4 separate regions of the Homo sapiens genome follow, and regions 1, 2 and 4 are each linked to region 3. The links are contacts of gene promoters, found by promoter capture Hi-C in blood cells and fetal thymus (Javierre and others, 2016). All regions are on one chromosome and are shown on one strand. The core of a region is centred on a gene start or on the middle of the fragment in contact, and the rest is flanking DNA. Distances in the headings are between cores, read along the strand shown. Region 1 has its middle 75 kb from the start of RUFY1. Region 2 has its middle 10 kb from the start of MSANTD5. Region 3 holds the start of ZNF879 (zinc finger protein 879). Region 4 has its middle 26 kb from the start of CLK4.

The links. The method cuts DNA at HindIII sites, captures the fragments that hold promoters and counts their contacts. A CHiCAGO score of 5 or more calls a contact.
Region 1: a contact is called between a fragment that was not itself captured here and the fragment with the promoter of ZNF879 in region 3, in 1 of 17 cell types (endothelial precursors). The highest score is 5.3, in endothelial precursors.
Region 2: a fragment that was not itself captured here is called in contact with the fragment with the promoter of ZNF879 in region 3 in 4 of 17 cell types (monocytes, naive CD8 T cells, total CD4 T cells and 1 more); the score reaches 6.4 in monocytes.
Region 4: a fragment that was not itself captured here is called in contact with the fragment with the promoter of ZNF879 in region 3 in 1 of 17 cell types (erythroblasts); the score reaches 6.8 in erythroblasts.

The regions. Positions count from the first base shown.
Region 1 is chr5:179,473,706-179,476,779 of GRCh38, forward strand. No RefSeq gene overlaps it. Among named protein-coding and RNA genes, the nearest start is that of RUFY1, 75 kb to the right of the region's middle. The HindIII fragment of the contact is 1,497 bases long and covers 712-2,208 here.
Region 2 is chr5:178,706,435-178,709,597 of GRCh38, forward strand. It overlaps a transcript of MSANTD5 not described here. Among named protein-coding and RNA genes, the nearest start is that of MSANTD5, 10 kb to the left of the region's middle. The HindIII fragment of the contact is 777 bases long and covers 1,421-2,197 here.
Region 3 is chr5:179,022,551-179,025,740 of GRCh38, forward strand. It overlaps ZNF879 (zinc finger protein 879), which reads left to right and starts at 1,254. Exons shown (of 5, transcript NM_001136116.3): 1 at 1,254-1,354; 2 at 2,420-2,487. The coding sequence starts at 2,455. RefSeq lists an enhancer at 882-1,383. The HindIII fragment of the contact is 13,349 bases long and covers 1-3,190 here.
Region 4 is chr5:178,651,973-178,654,991 of GRCh38, forward strand. No RefSeq gene overlaps it. Among named protein-coding and RNA genes, the nearest start is that of CLK4, 26 kb to the left of the region's middle. The HindIII fragment of the contact is 1,957 bases long and covers 738-2,694 here.

The DNA of each region.
Region 1 (3,074 bases), core at 210-2,709, 450 kb after region 3:
CATGTTTGCATGGTTCAAAAGTCAAAATGACATGATGAGGCATAAAATAAGTATAGGCTGGGCACGGTGGCTCACACGTATAACCTCAACACTTTGGGAGATCAAGGCAGGAGGATCACTTGAGGCCAAGAGTTCAAGACCAGCTTAGGCAACATAGCGAAGCCCCATCTCTACAATTTTTAATTAAACTTAGCCAGGCATAGTGCCGTGTGCCTGTATTTAGCCGGGCATAGTGGTGTGTGCCTGTATTCCCAGCTACTCGAGAGGCTGAGGCAAGAGGACTGCTTAAGCCCAGAAGTTCGAGGCTGCAGTGAGCCATGATCACACCATTGCACCTCCAGCCTGGGCAAGAGTGCAAGACTGTGTCTCTAAAAAATTAAAAATTAAAATGGGGTATAAAACTATACAAAAAAAATTCTAACTCCCATCTTCATCTTCCCCACAATTGTCTCTCTCACACTCACATAACCATTTTTATTCATTTTCTGTTTATTTTTCTGTATTTCTTTATACAACTACAACAAGGAAATGCAAATATATTTATTCCTATTTTCCACTCTTTTCTTACAGAAAGGTAACATCATTGATACAGTATCTTGCACCTTCTTTTTTTTCTTACTATATCCTGAAGTAGCTCCTTATTCTTTCTTCCAGTTGTGTTTCATGTTTATTCAGCCAGCTCCCCATGGGCAGGCCCTTGGCTTGTTTCCAAGCTTTTACCATTACAAACAGTGCTGTAGTGTATAACCTCGTTCATGGGTCATTTTATACTCGTGAATATCTGTCTGTAGAATAGATTTTCAGAGGTAGGATTGCTGGGTCAAAGGATAAATACATTTTTTTGTTTGTTTGTTTGTTTTTTGTTTTTTTTGAGACGGAGTCTTGCTCTGTCGCCCAGGCTGGAGTGCAGTGGCACCATCTCAGCTCACTGCAAGCTCCGCTTCCCGGGTTCACGCCATTCTCCTGCCTCACCCTCCTGAGTAGCTAGGAATACAGGTGCCCGCCACCATGCCTGGCTAATTTTTTGTATTTTTAGTTGAGACGGGGTTTCACTGTGTTAGCGAGGATGGTCTCGATCTCCTGACCTCGTGATCCACCCGCCTCGGCCTCCCAAAGTGCTGGGATTACAGGCATGAGCCATCGCGCCCGGCCAATACATTTGTATTTTTTATAAGCAATGCCAAACTGCTCTCCATAAGGTTTGTACAATTTTGTATTCTCCACAACCAAACCTGTTTCCTCACAGCCACACCAACGATGTATTTTACAATTTTGGATTTTTGCCAAATTGAATTGCGCAAAATGATGTCTAAGGGCAATTTAATTTGCATTTCTCTTATTACAACTGGGGTTGAGCATCTCTTGATGTTTAAGGATCATTTGCATTTCATTCTGTATGAACTATTTCTTTCTTTTGCCCATTTTTTCTTTGTAGTCCTTGGTCTCTTTCTTAGGAAAGTAAAAGCTATCTTTATCTATTACTGCATGACAAACTACCTCAAAACCTAATGGCTTAAAGCGACATAATTTATTATTCCTCAGGATTCTGCGGGTCGAGTGGGCACAGCTGGGTGGCTCTTGCTCTACTTGCTACCAGCTGGGCTTACTCACTCGGCTACATTTGGCCGGCAGCTTGGCTGAGCTGGATGGTCCACCAAGCCTTCACTCACTTGTCGAGTGCCTTTGTGCTCGTCTGCATAGCCACGTCACCTCGGCTGGGGCCTCCTCACAGCGTGGTGGTCTCAGGGAAGTCAGCCTTCTTACATAGCAGCTGGCTTTCAAGAGGGAGGAAACAGAAGCTGCCAGTCCTCTTAAGGCCTGGATTCCAACGTCAGGAAATGTCACTTCTGCATTCCTTTGGTCATAGAAAGTCACAAGGTCAGCCCAGATTTAAGGAATAGGAAATAGACCCCACCTCTGGGTGGGAGAAGTGGTGTGGGCTGCAGGGAAGGAACGCACTGGTGGCCGTCGGGGCCAAAGACCGGGGATAGACGGGGAGAGCGGGGGCAGCCGCTGGCATCACCGTGAGCCTGTCTTAGCCCTTGGGGGCATCGTGAGGTTGGATTCTTTAAAGACAGGGCTCCGAGGGTTGGGAATCTTGAGGGCTATAACAATACTAAAAACTGAGGACACGCATACATTTCGTTGTGATTTTCGGTGGAGGAACTTAGTGAAGGTGGTGTTACGGGGTCGGGGAGAAAATGTAAAAGCTTGGCCGTGGGTGGGTTGGGGCCGACCCTTTCTCCCACCGGTTTATGGCTGGAGAAGGTGGGAGATGTCAACTCCATTTAGGGGACTGGAGGGACCTGGACAGTTTTGAAGGGGAATTTGAGAGTTGAATTTGAGTGTGCGCTTGTAAAGGACTCAACCCTGCCAGTCGCGGTTCAAGATCAGGGTTGGCTGTAGGTGGGAGGCCGTGCAGTTCCTGGGAAAGCTAACTCACCGCGGTGTCTTTTCTGTCTCACGCCGAGAAGAGCCCTGTTTGTGCTCCGCTACTGCCTGGAGTCTCCAGAGGACGCAAACGGGCGAGGGGATGTGTGGGGAGAAGTACTTGCTTTTTCTTGCTTTCTTCTTTACAGAATTTGTTCTTTTCCCACAAGGCCACTCTAGCCACACCAGGAGCTTTCTCAGAAGCAGTCACAATCTTTTTCCTTTTTTTGTTTTCAGACAAGGTCTCACAAATGACAAACAACAAGACAAATGACAAACAGGCAAAAAAAAAAAATCTTTTTTCTTCCAAGATAAAACCCAAATTGATTCAGCAGACATTTTGATTAGGAAATCCTATAAATCAGGACCACTCTTAATTTCAGACACTCCGTTATGAAGTGTACATCTACCTCTAGGGGATGAATAAGCCATTGAATCTTTTAAAAACTGGCTTTTTAAAAACTGTTGCCGAGGCTGGAGTGCAGTGGCACAATCTTGGCTCACTGCAGCCTTAAATTCCTGGGCTCAAGTGATCCTCCTGATTTAGTCTCCCTAGTAGCTGGGAGCACAGGTGCATGCCACCACCATGCTGGCTAATTTTTTTTTTTTTTTGAGACGGAGTCTCGCTCTGTTGCCCAGGCTGG
Region 2 (3,163 bases), core at 559-3,058, 320 kb before region 3:
GGTGGCAGAGGGGGTGCATTCTATAATCTTCCAGTTAAATCTGTCAGTACTCGTGTGTCCAAGGGCTGGGACCTACTCAAGTGTTCTCCAGTGGTATAACTTTGCCTCCTTGCCCTGCCCTCCCTCTCCTGCTTGCAGGATTCCAATCTACTGGAATCCTCAAAGTGTTGAGCCATGTTGACAGTTTCCTCTCCCTTAGGTGAGACAGGAAGGATAGAGAGAATGGGGAATGTCCTTCCTCCAGCTAGCATAAGACTCTGGCAAGCTTTTTTTCCCTAGAGTGTCGGCTTTTATGGAGAAGACTCTGGGTGTATTTCACAATGATTCCCCTTCTTCTGCCACAGCCCTCAGGGGATATTTCTCAGATCATGACCTTGGGAATCTGCTGGGATTCCTGGAGCTAATGGCAGTGGCGGTATGCGGGACCCGTTATGACTATGGACCCAGAAGTTCCACATTCTCAGTTTAGTCCATATTCAACCTCCAGCAATTCATCAAAATTACCTGTTAGTTTTCCGACCAGTTTTGGCTCCAGTGGGCTCCAAGTAAACAGATCTCAGCTGTGTCTCTGGATACACCCGTCTCTCCAGATTTCACAGTTGTGACTTCAGTTCTCAGAAAGATAAAAGTCACTGCTTTTCAGCTTGACTAGCTTTTTCTTATAAGGATAGGGGTGACTACTTCCAAGCCGTTTGCATGTTGTAGTTGAAACTGGGGGTTCCAACAAATTTCTGAGTGCTAGAGAATGAAAGAGAGAATTGAAGAATGAAGAATAGAAGAATATCGAATGACAACAGAATCACAAAAGTCCTTTAACTGCTCAGTTTAAACAGTTTAAATGCCGAGGAAGGGAACAATTTCATGATGACTTCAGTGTCAATAGGATGGCTATCAGAGGTTGTCTGTGTAGCATCATGCAGAAACGCAGAATATGGATAGGACACCTTCTACAGCCTACTTCAGGCTTTGCTTTAATTTTGAATAACAATTGTTTGCACTTCTGGCGGGGCGCGGTGGCTCACTCCTGTAATCCCAGCACTTTGGGAGGCTGAGGCGGGTGGATCATGAGGTCAGGAGTTCGAGACCAGTCTGGCCAACATGGTGAAACCCCATCTCCACTAAAAATACAAAAAAAAAAAAAAAAAAAAAAAAAAAATTAGCCGGGCATGGTGGCAGGTGCCTGTAATCCCAGCTACTTGGGTGGCTGAGGCATGAAAATCGCTTGAACCCGGGAGGCGGAGGTTGCAGTGAGCCGAGATCTTACCATTACACTCCAGGCCAGGCGACAATGCGAGACCCCGTCTCAAAAAAAAAAAAAAAAATTGTTTGCACTTCTACACATCTACATAAATTTGTATTTGTATTATATCAACCAAAGGAATACAATTTGACTTATTAACTCAATTTAGTTTCTGCAAAAAGCTTCAATTTCCCAGGTCTCATCTAGAAGGGATAAGATAGCTTTATAAGCACAGGTTTTCAAAAGAAAAACATTGCAGAGGCAAAAAAAAAAAAAAAAAAAAAAAAAAAAAAATTCTCATTGTGATTATTTGCATCTGGGGTTATACTGTAAAAAGAGACATTTTAGATCTTTTATATAGTCTCTAATAGTAAACAGAAAGATTACATTTTTATTACTGCAGATTTTATCCTGGCACTTGAAAATTCGTTTGCAATTTTGGAAGCAGGAAATACTTTTGGTGTGTTTCCATTGGTCATTTGAGCTGAAAAGATTGAGTGTGGAAAGTCATTACAATTTCTGCTATGGTTGTTTTATTTTTATCTGAATTTCCTTTCATCGGAAAATTTGTTACTTTATCCGTTTCTTTAGCACTATTTGAGGAAATCATCTATCACTTAGGCTTAGCTGTTAGTATATCCTGCCTTATATCTGACTTTCCAATATGTTCAATACTGAATGAACAATTGTGTACTGTAGAAAGAGCTTCAAAACATCTTTTCTCTGATACCAAATATTTTAAAAATTAATCATGAAACTTATACTTGCATTTTGATTCAAATATACATAAATGAAAATAGGCAATAGGGTAGATCTCATATTAAGTATCCTTAACACAAAATATAAAATAAAAAATAAGTTAATAACAATAATTGAAAATACTAATTTCGATCATCTCACTCACAAGAGTGAAGCATAATTACCAATAAATTGAGGCTGAGCTATTGAAAGGTTGGAAGCTTACAAACTAACAATAAACTTGAACTTGATATGTGACACAGAAAAGTCGAACTTGATGCATGCCTGCAAGGGAGAACTGTGTTTGCAGTAACAGGATCCCTGAAGAAAGCCAGAGCTGATCTTATCCAAAATTTTAAGCAGCTCAGTGTCTGGGACTGGCGAATTTTCAGAGGCAGGGATGTTTATGGACTGTTAGATTTTCAAGCGTGTTAGTGTGGTCACTGGAATTAGACGGTTGTCGACTGGCTAACTTCCAGAAGCACGGTCACTGGAAGGAGGGACTTGCTGACCAACCGTGGTCTAGAAGCAGCACTCAAGTGGCATTCAGAAGCTGGAGGCTGTCAGGAAGTTGATTTCAGAAGCATGGCTGCTGGCAGCGAGGCCATCATTGATTTTTCAGACCACGTGTACTGATCCAAAGATCTAATTATTGGGGATTATTTTACAACTTAGGAATTTGGCCAAAAGAACAGTCTTTTCCTTTCTTTAATACGGAAAACAAGTACTTTTATTCTCACTTCCCCCTTTTGCCTTCCCTCAGTCAAACACATAGGATAAAACATAAGAGATGGTTCAGATCTTTATTTGTGGAGGTATGATTTCCAACTTGTATTGCCACTTAAGCGATTTAAGCGCCAATTACTGAAGCAGAACCGTAGCTCAAAGTGCTGATTTTTCATTAATGAGGGGAGAAACCCTGAATACATTTAAGGCATCCTAACAAAGTTAATACAGGATTCAGGACAAAATCATTAAATACAGGACGTTTGGCAACCCTACCTGTGAGTCAGCTTTCTCCTCACTTGCCACTCTCACCTATTTGCCTATGAAAACCATGCCTTATTTATTCTAATACATGATTATCTGTCTCCTGTTCTCCATCAATGCTGTCCCTGTTTGAGTTGGAACCCTCATTTACCTATTACTTGAATTTAAACAGCCCAGATTTCCTGGGTGGCATCA
Region 3 (3,190 bases), core at 4-2,503:
CCCACCATTAAGGCACAAGGATTGTTTTCTGGTTTTCTTTTTTTTCCAAATTTTATAATAGCCAACCTAATGAGTGTGAAATCGCAGTGGATGTTTGATCTGCTTTGATCTGCATTCCCCTAATGATTAGTGATGTGCATTATTATCTTTTAACAATATAAAACATCCATTTTGTTCGATTTAATTATTTTTACATTGCAATAATCTTTGTATTGTTGTAACATCGTGATCCAAGATTTCTTTTTCATATTATCTACCTGATATCTCTTAGTCCCTCTCTGCATTTTCTATCTTCAAGTACCCTTTGTGTTTAGGTTTGTCTCTGTAAACGCTAATGTTTGATATTTTAAAAATCAACACTTTCTGAGCACATAGTATTTGGCGTGTACAGTGCCGGTCACCGAGGATGCAGTTGTGATGATAGCGCTGGGAGTTGGGCTTTATTTTACGTTTTAAAGAAGTCACTTCAAAAGAAGTGAGTGCCATGAAGAGGGAAATACTAGGCTTATGCTTTTGTTTTACTCTGAGTGCCAGTAAATATGTAAAGATTACAAAAATTTATTTATTTATTTATTTATTTATTTGAGACAGAGTCTTGCTCTGTCACCCAGGCTGGAGTGCAATGGCGCGATCTGAGCTCACCGCAACCTTCGCCTCCCAGGTTCAAGCGATTCTCCTGCCTCAGCCTCCCGAATAGCTGGGATTACAGGCATGTGCCACCACGCCCGACTAATTTTTCGTGTTTTCGTAGAGACAGGGTTGCACCATGTTGGCCAAGATGGTCTCGGTCTCCTGACCTTGTGATCCGCCCACCTCGGCCTCCCAAAGTGCTGCGATTACAGGCATAAGCCACCGCGCCCGGCCGAGATTATAAAATTTAGACATAATTCATTTTTAATTAAAATCGCAGAATGGACTGTAATAGTTCTGTCACCACCTGCGAATAATCAGCAGCGGCTAGTCTTCCAGATTTAAAAATTCATACTCACTTTTCCGTCTTACTATTTTTGTCATTCTAATTACGAATACAATGGGTGGTTTAGCGGAGGGAGAGTAGTTGGAGCCCAAGCTGAGGGACTCGGCTTCAGCCTTCTCGAACTCCACAGCCCGACCGCGTTCTCCGCTCTCGGCGCTGTGGTTCTCTCTCGGACACCGTAAGTGGTGGTGCCGCAGCGACGTCTGGGAAATGAAGTCCGGAGGGACAAACGCTGCGGTTCAGCCAGGGAAACCCGTCGGCTCTCCGGCGCGCAGGCGCAGTTGCGCCCGGCAGCGACGGGAAACGTCTCTGAATTAGGTGTTCCGCTCGCCTCTTGTGCGGTGTGGAGCTGCGCGCCCCCCGCCGAGGCGGGCCCAGGTACAGGCTGCCGGTGAGGGCGGGCCCGGGGCGTGCGGCTGCCGCGGCGGGACCAGGACGAGGGCTGGCCTCTGCGCGTGTCTGCCGAGTCCCCGGCTCCGGGCGTCCGAGCCGGGGCGGCCTCGGCAGGTGAACCCGGCCCCGGAGGGGGCGTGGCCTGGGAAGGGCCTGGCGGAGGCCGGGAGGGCGCTTCGACGCCGCTGGACTCCTGGGCCGCAGCCTGGGCCGGACTCCGGGGGAAACGGCTCCAGAACAGAAACTGCAAAATGCCGCCTCGGTTCAGGGTCCGGAGCCCTCCGGGCGGTTTTTCGCTCTTAGTGTTTGTGGGTTTAAGCCTCCCCCTACTCCGTTTCCCGGAGTTTAAACTTTAGATTTACTCGTTTTTGGCAGTCTTGCACGTTTGGCAGTGTTTTCCTACAGCCAGTCCTAGAGTGATTTAACTATTTCTTTTTTTATTTACCGTAACCATGTCCACTTGCTACGTTTCTTCCCATTTCTCTAAATTTTAAATCAATTTCTAGCTAGTGATGCTGTTTTCTTGCGCCCTTGTTTTTTTGGGGCCAGGGAGAATGGGTAACGCTACCTTTAAGCAGCTTTGATAACTGTTTTTGATAAAGGAAGTAAATCTTACAAGAGGAAGAAAAGAGGACTAATTTTTGGTTGGCTGTTCCTAAAAAAGAGCATCAGTTCTTCAACTGCTGTTTTTCGTATTGAACAACATCCAAGTGCAGATGTGTGGAATATTGTGTCATTTCCTATTACTTTATCTGAATGAGCCTTGCCTGATTCTGCCCTTGACCCTGTTAAGGCACGGCAGATGGTCTTCATCCCTTCGCTCCTTTCGTCTTTATCGTAAAGCACTGGCAGAAAGGTAGCAGGCCCGGTGACTCTGAACCTGCTTCCCACACTGGTTTAAGTGGCCGGACTTAGGGCCCCTCTGGCCTGGGCAGTTCCAGGCTCCTTCTCTGCAGGTGCTCAGCTTATGGCTTCTAACCTGGTCTGGCCTAATGAGGGTGGGCATGCAGGCTGGATGAAAAGACCTCACAGCTTTTTTCTCCATTCCAGGTGCCTTCTCCAAGAGAGGCAGCAGGGAGGGAGAAATGGCAAGGAGGTTGCTGCCAGCCCATGTACAGGTGAGTGAAGGCTTCTTTTTGCTTGAACTGCCTTCAGGGTCTAGACGTGGTAAACTTCTTCATCTGTTGTTGAGCTTCTCTACCCAGTGAAGCTCAGGGAAGGACCAGAGGGCTTGGTAGCTGAGAAACTCTGGAAGGAAGGTGTTTCCCTTGCCTCAGAGCCTGTCTCATGCTTTTTTTTTTTTTTCTTTCCCTTTTTTGAGACAGGGTCTCACTCTGTTACCCAGGCTGGAGTGCAGTGGCACGGACATGGCTCACTGCAGCCTCAACCTCCCTGGTAGCTGGGACTACAGGCATGTGTGCCACCACACCCAGCTAATTTTTGTATTTTTAGTAGAGACCAGGCTTCAACAAGTTGGCAAGGCTGGTCTTGAACTCCTGACCTCAAGCAATCTGCCCGCCTCAGCCTCCTAAAGTGTTGGGACTATGGGCGTGAGCCACCGCGCCCGGCCCCCAGTCTCATGCTTTTTGACAAAGAATTTAATGGGGCTCCAATGCCAGGCCACTGCCACTACCAGAGCTTTGTGAAAGATCCAGGTGTTTTTGCCCTGTGGAGGACAAAGACACGGAGGAGTTAAATAATTCCTTCCTAACACGGGGAATTTGAAAAAGAGAGGCCCTGTATTCCCAGGACCTTGGGAGGCCAAGGTGGGCAGATCACTTGAGGTCAGAAGTTCAAGACCAGCCTGACCAACATGGTGAA
Region 4 (3,019 bases), core at 466-2,965, 370 kb before region 3:
TGCTACAAATTATTAAACTCATGTTATGAAAGTGGGTGCAAGACATGAGTGAATGAATGGGTTACAGAACAATGGAAGTAAATCAAACACATAAATCACACTTCCAGCCGGGCGGTGGCTCACGCCTGTAATCCTAGCACTTTGGGAGGCTGAGGTGGGTGGCTCACACCTATAATCCCATCACTTTGGGAGGCTGAGGTGGGTGGATCACTTGAGGTCAGGAGTTTGAGAGCAGCCTGTCCAACATGGTGAAACCCCGTCTCTGCTACAAATACAAAAAACTAGCCAGGCGTGGTGGTATGCGCCTGTAATCCTAGCTACTCGGGAGGCTGAGGCAAGAGAATCGCTTGAACCCGGAAGGCGGAGGTTGCAGTGAGCCAAGATTGTACCACTGCACTCCACCCTGGGCAACAGAGTGAGACTCCATCTTAGAAAAAATAAATAAATAAAAGTAAATCACACTTCCACTCAGTTTCTCAGCCATGCAGGGTACACCTGCTTACTGTATCTTTCCCAAGAGCCATATAATTATGAAAAGAATAAGACTTTCCCTTTTATTATTTTAAAGACGGAGTATAAAAAGTATTTGTTCCTTTAAGACCACTTTATTGAGGTATGATTGACATATAAAGAGCTGTACATATTTAATGTATCCAACTCGATGAATTTAGGCATAAGTATACCCCTGTGAAACCATCACCACCACCAAGGCCATAGACATGCCCATCACTTTCCCAAGCTTCCTCCCACCCCCTTTTTTATTATCATTATTATTTTGTGGTAAGAGCACTTAATAGAAGATCTGCCCTCTTAGCGAATTTTAAGTATCCAAGACAGTATTGTTAGCTATAGGCACTATGCTGTAGTAGGTCTCTAGAATTTATTTATCTTGCATAACTAAAATTTTGTACCTTTGACCATCACTTTCCATTTCTCCTCCTCCAGCCCTTGGCAACCACCGTCCTGCTCTCTACTTCTATGAGTTCGACCATTTCAAGTTCCTCATCACACTGAAACCAGGCAGTATTTGTCTTTCTGTATGTGGCCTATTTCGGTTAGCATGATGTCCTCCAGGCTCAGCCAAATTGTCACAAGTGGCAGAATGTCACTTCTGTTTTTATGACTGAACCCCATTCCATTGCATATACATACCATGCTTCTTCATCCATTCCTCCGTCGATGGACATGTCGGTTGTTTCCATATCTTGGCTATTGTGAATAACACTGCAGCGAGCATGGGAGGGCAGTGTCTCTTTGAGATCCTGATTTCAGTTCCTTTGGATAAATACCCAAAATTAGGATTGCTGGATCATATGATCGTTCTATTTTTAATTGTTTGAGTAACCTCCACACCGTTTTCCATAATAGCTGTACCAATTTACATTCACGCCAATAATGTATCAGAGTTTCTGTTTTCCCACATATTCGCCAACACTTATCTTTTCTTTTTTTTTTGAGACAGAGTTTTGCCCTTGTTGCCCAGGCTGGAGTGCAATGGTGCAATCTCGGCTCACGACGACCTCCACCTCCCGGGTTCAAGCGATTCTCCTGCCTCAGCCTCCTGAGTAGCTGGGATTACAGGCATGCACCACCATGCCTGGCTAATTTGTATTTTCAGTAGAGACAGGGTTTCTCCATGTTGGTCAGGCTGGTCTCGAACTCCTGACCTCAGGTGATCCGTCCACCTCGGCCTCCCAAAGTTCCGAGATTACAGGCGTGAGCCACTGCGCCCGGCCATTTCGTTTTTAATATAATAGCCATCCTCCCAATGAGGTGATCTCTGATTATGATTTTTTTTTTTTTTTGAGACGGAGTCTTGCTCCTGTTACCCAGGCTGGAGTGCAATGGCGCAATCTCGGCTCACTGCAACCTGCACCTCCCAGGTTCCAGCGATTCTCCTGCCTCAGCCTCCCAAGTAGCTGGGGTTACAGGCATGCGCCACCACGCCCAGCTAATTTTTGTGTTTTTAGTAGAGACAGGCTTTCACCATGTTGGCCAGGCTGGTCTCAATCTCCTGACCTCAAGTAATCTGCCCGCCTCGACCTCCCAAAGCCCTGGGATTACAGACGTGAGCCACCACACCCAGCCAGTACCCATTTTTAAATTGGGTTATTTGGAGGTTTCTTTGCTAGTGAACTGTTTGAGTTCCTTGTATATTGTGGTTGTTAACCTTTTATCAGGTATGTGGGTTGCAGACAGTTTCTCCCATTCTGTAGGTTTTCTTTTCAATTGTTTCCTTTGCTCTGCAGACCTTTTAGTTTGATATAATCCCACTTGTTTATTTTTACTTTTGTTGTCTGTGCTTTTGTTGTCATGTCCAAACAATTATCACCAAGACCAATGTCAAGGAGCTTTTCCTCTACGTTTTCTTCTAGAAGTTTTACAGTTTCAGGTCTTACGTTTAAATCCTTCATACATTTTTAGTTGATTTTTGTGTATGATGTAAGAAAGGAGTTCAGTCTCATTCTTTTGCCTGTGGATATCCAGTTTTCCACACCATTTATTGAAGAGACCATCCTTCCTCTGTTTTATTTTCTTGGTGCCTTGTTGAAGGTAAGTTGACCATGTGTATGGGGAAGAGCATTATTCCTGGCTTCTCTACTCGGCACCATTGGTCTAGGTGTCCATTTTTAGGCTAGTACCATACCGTTTTGATTACTACAGCTAAAGTAGTAGCTTTCTTCACCGAAAGGAAGCTTAACAGTATTATTCATAAACCGTAAAATTTTAGTTTACTAGGGTAGAATCTTTCAAAAATGGCATATGGGAAAGTATAAACGGATGGGTTTCTCACTAAGAGAAACTCTGAGCCCAATTTAGGACCATGAACAGATTAATTTCTGTTTATACTAAACAAAGTGTTATGTAGAGAATCTCTTCAATCTAATACTGTTTCTTATGCTAAAATATAGCTGTCTTTTTTTTAAAAACTATTTAGTTTAGAAGCCATTTCAATTTATACATTTCCCATACTTCTGTTCTTCCAAAAGATAAACACATACAAACACCTCGTGGTTTC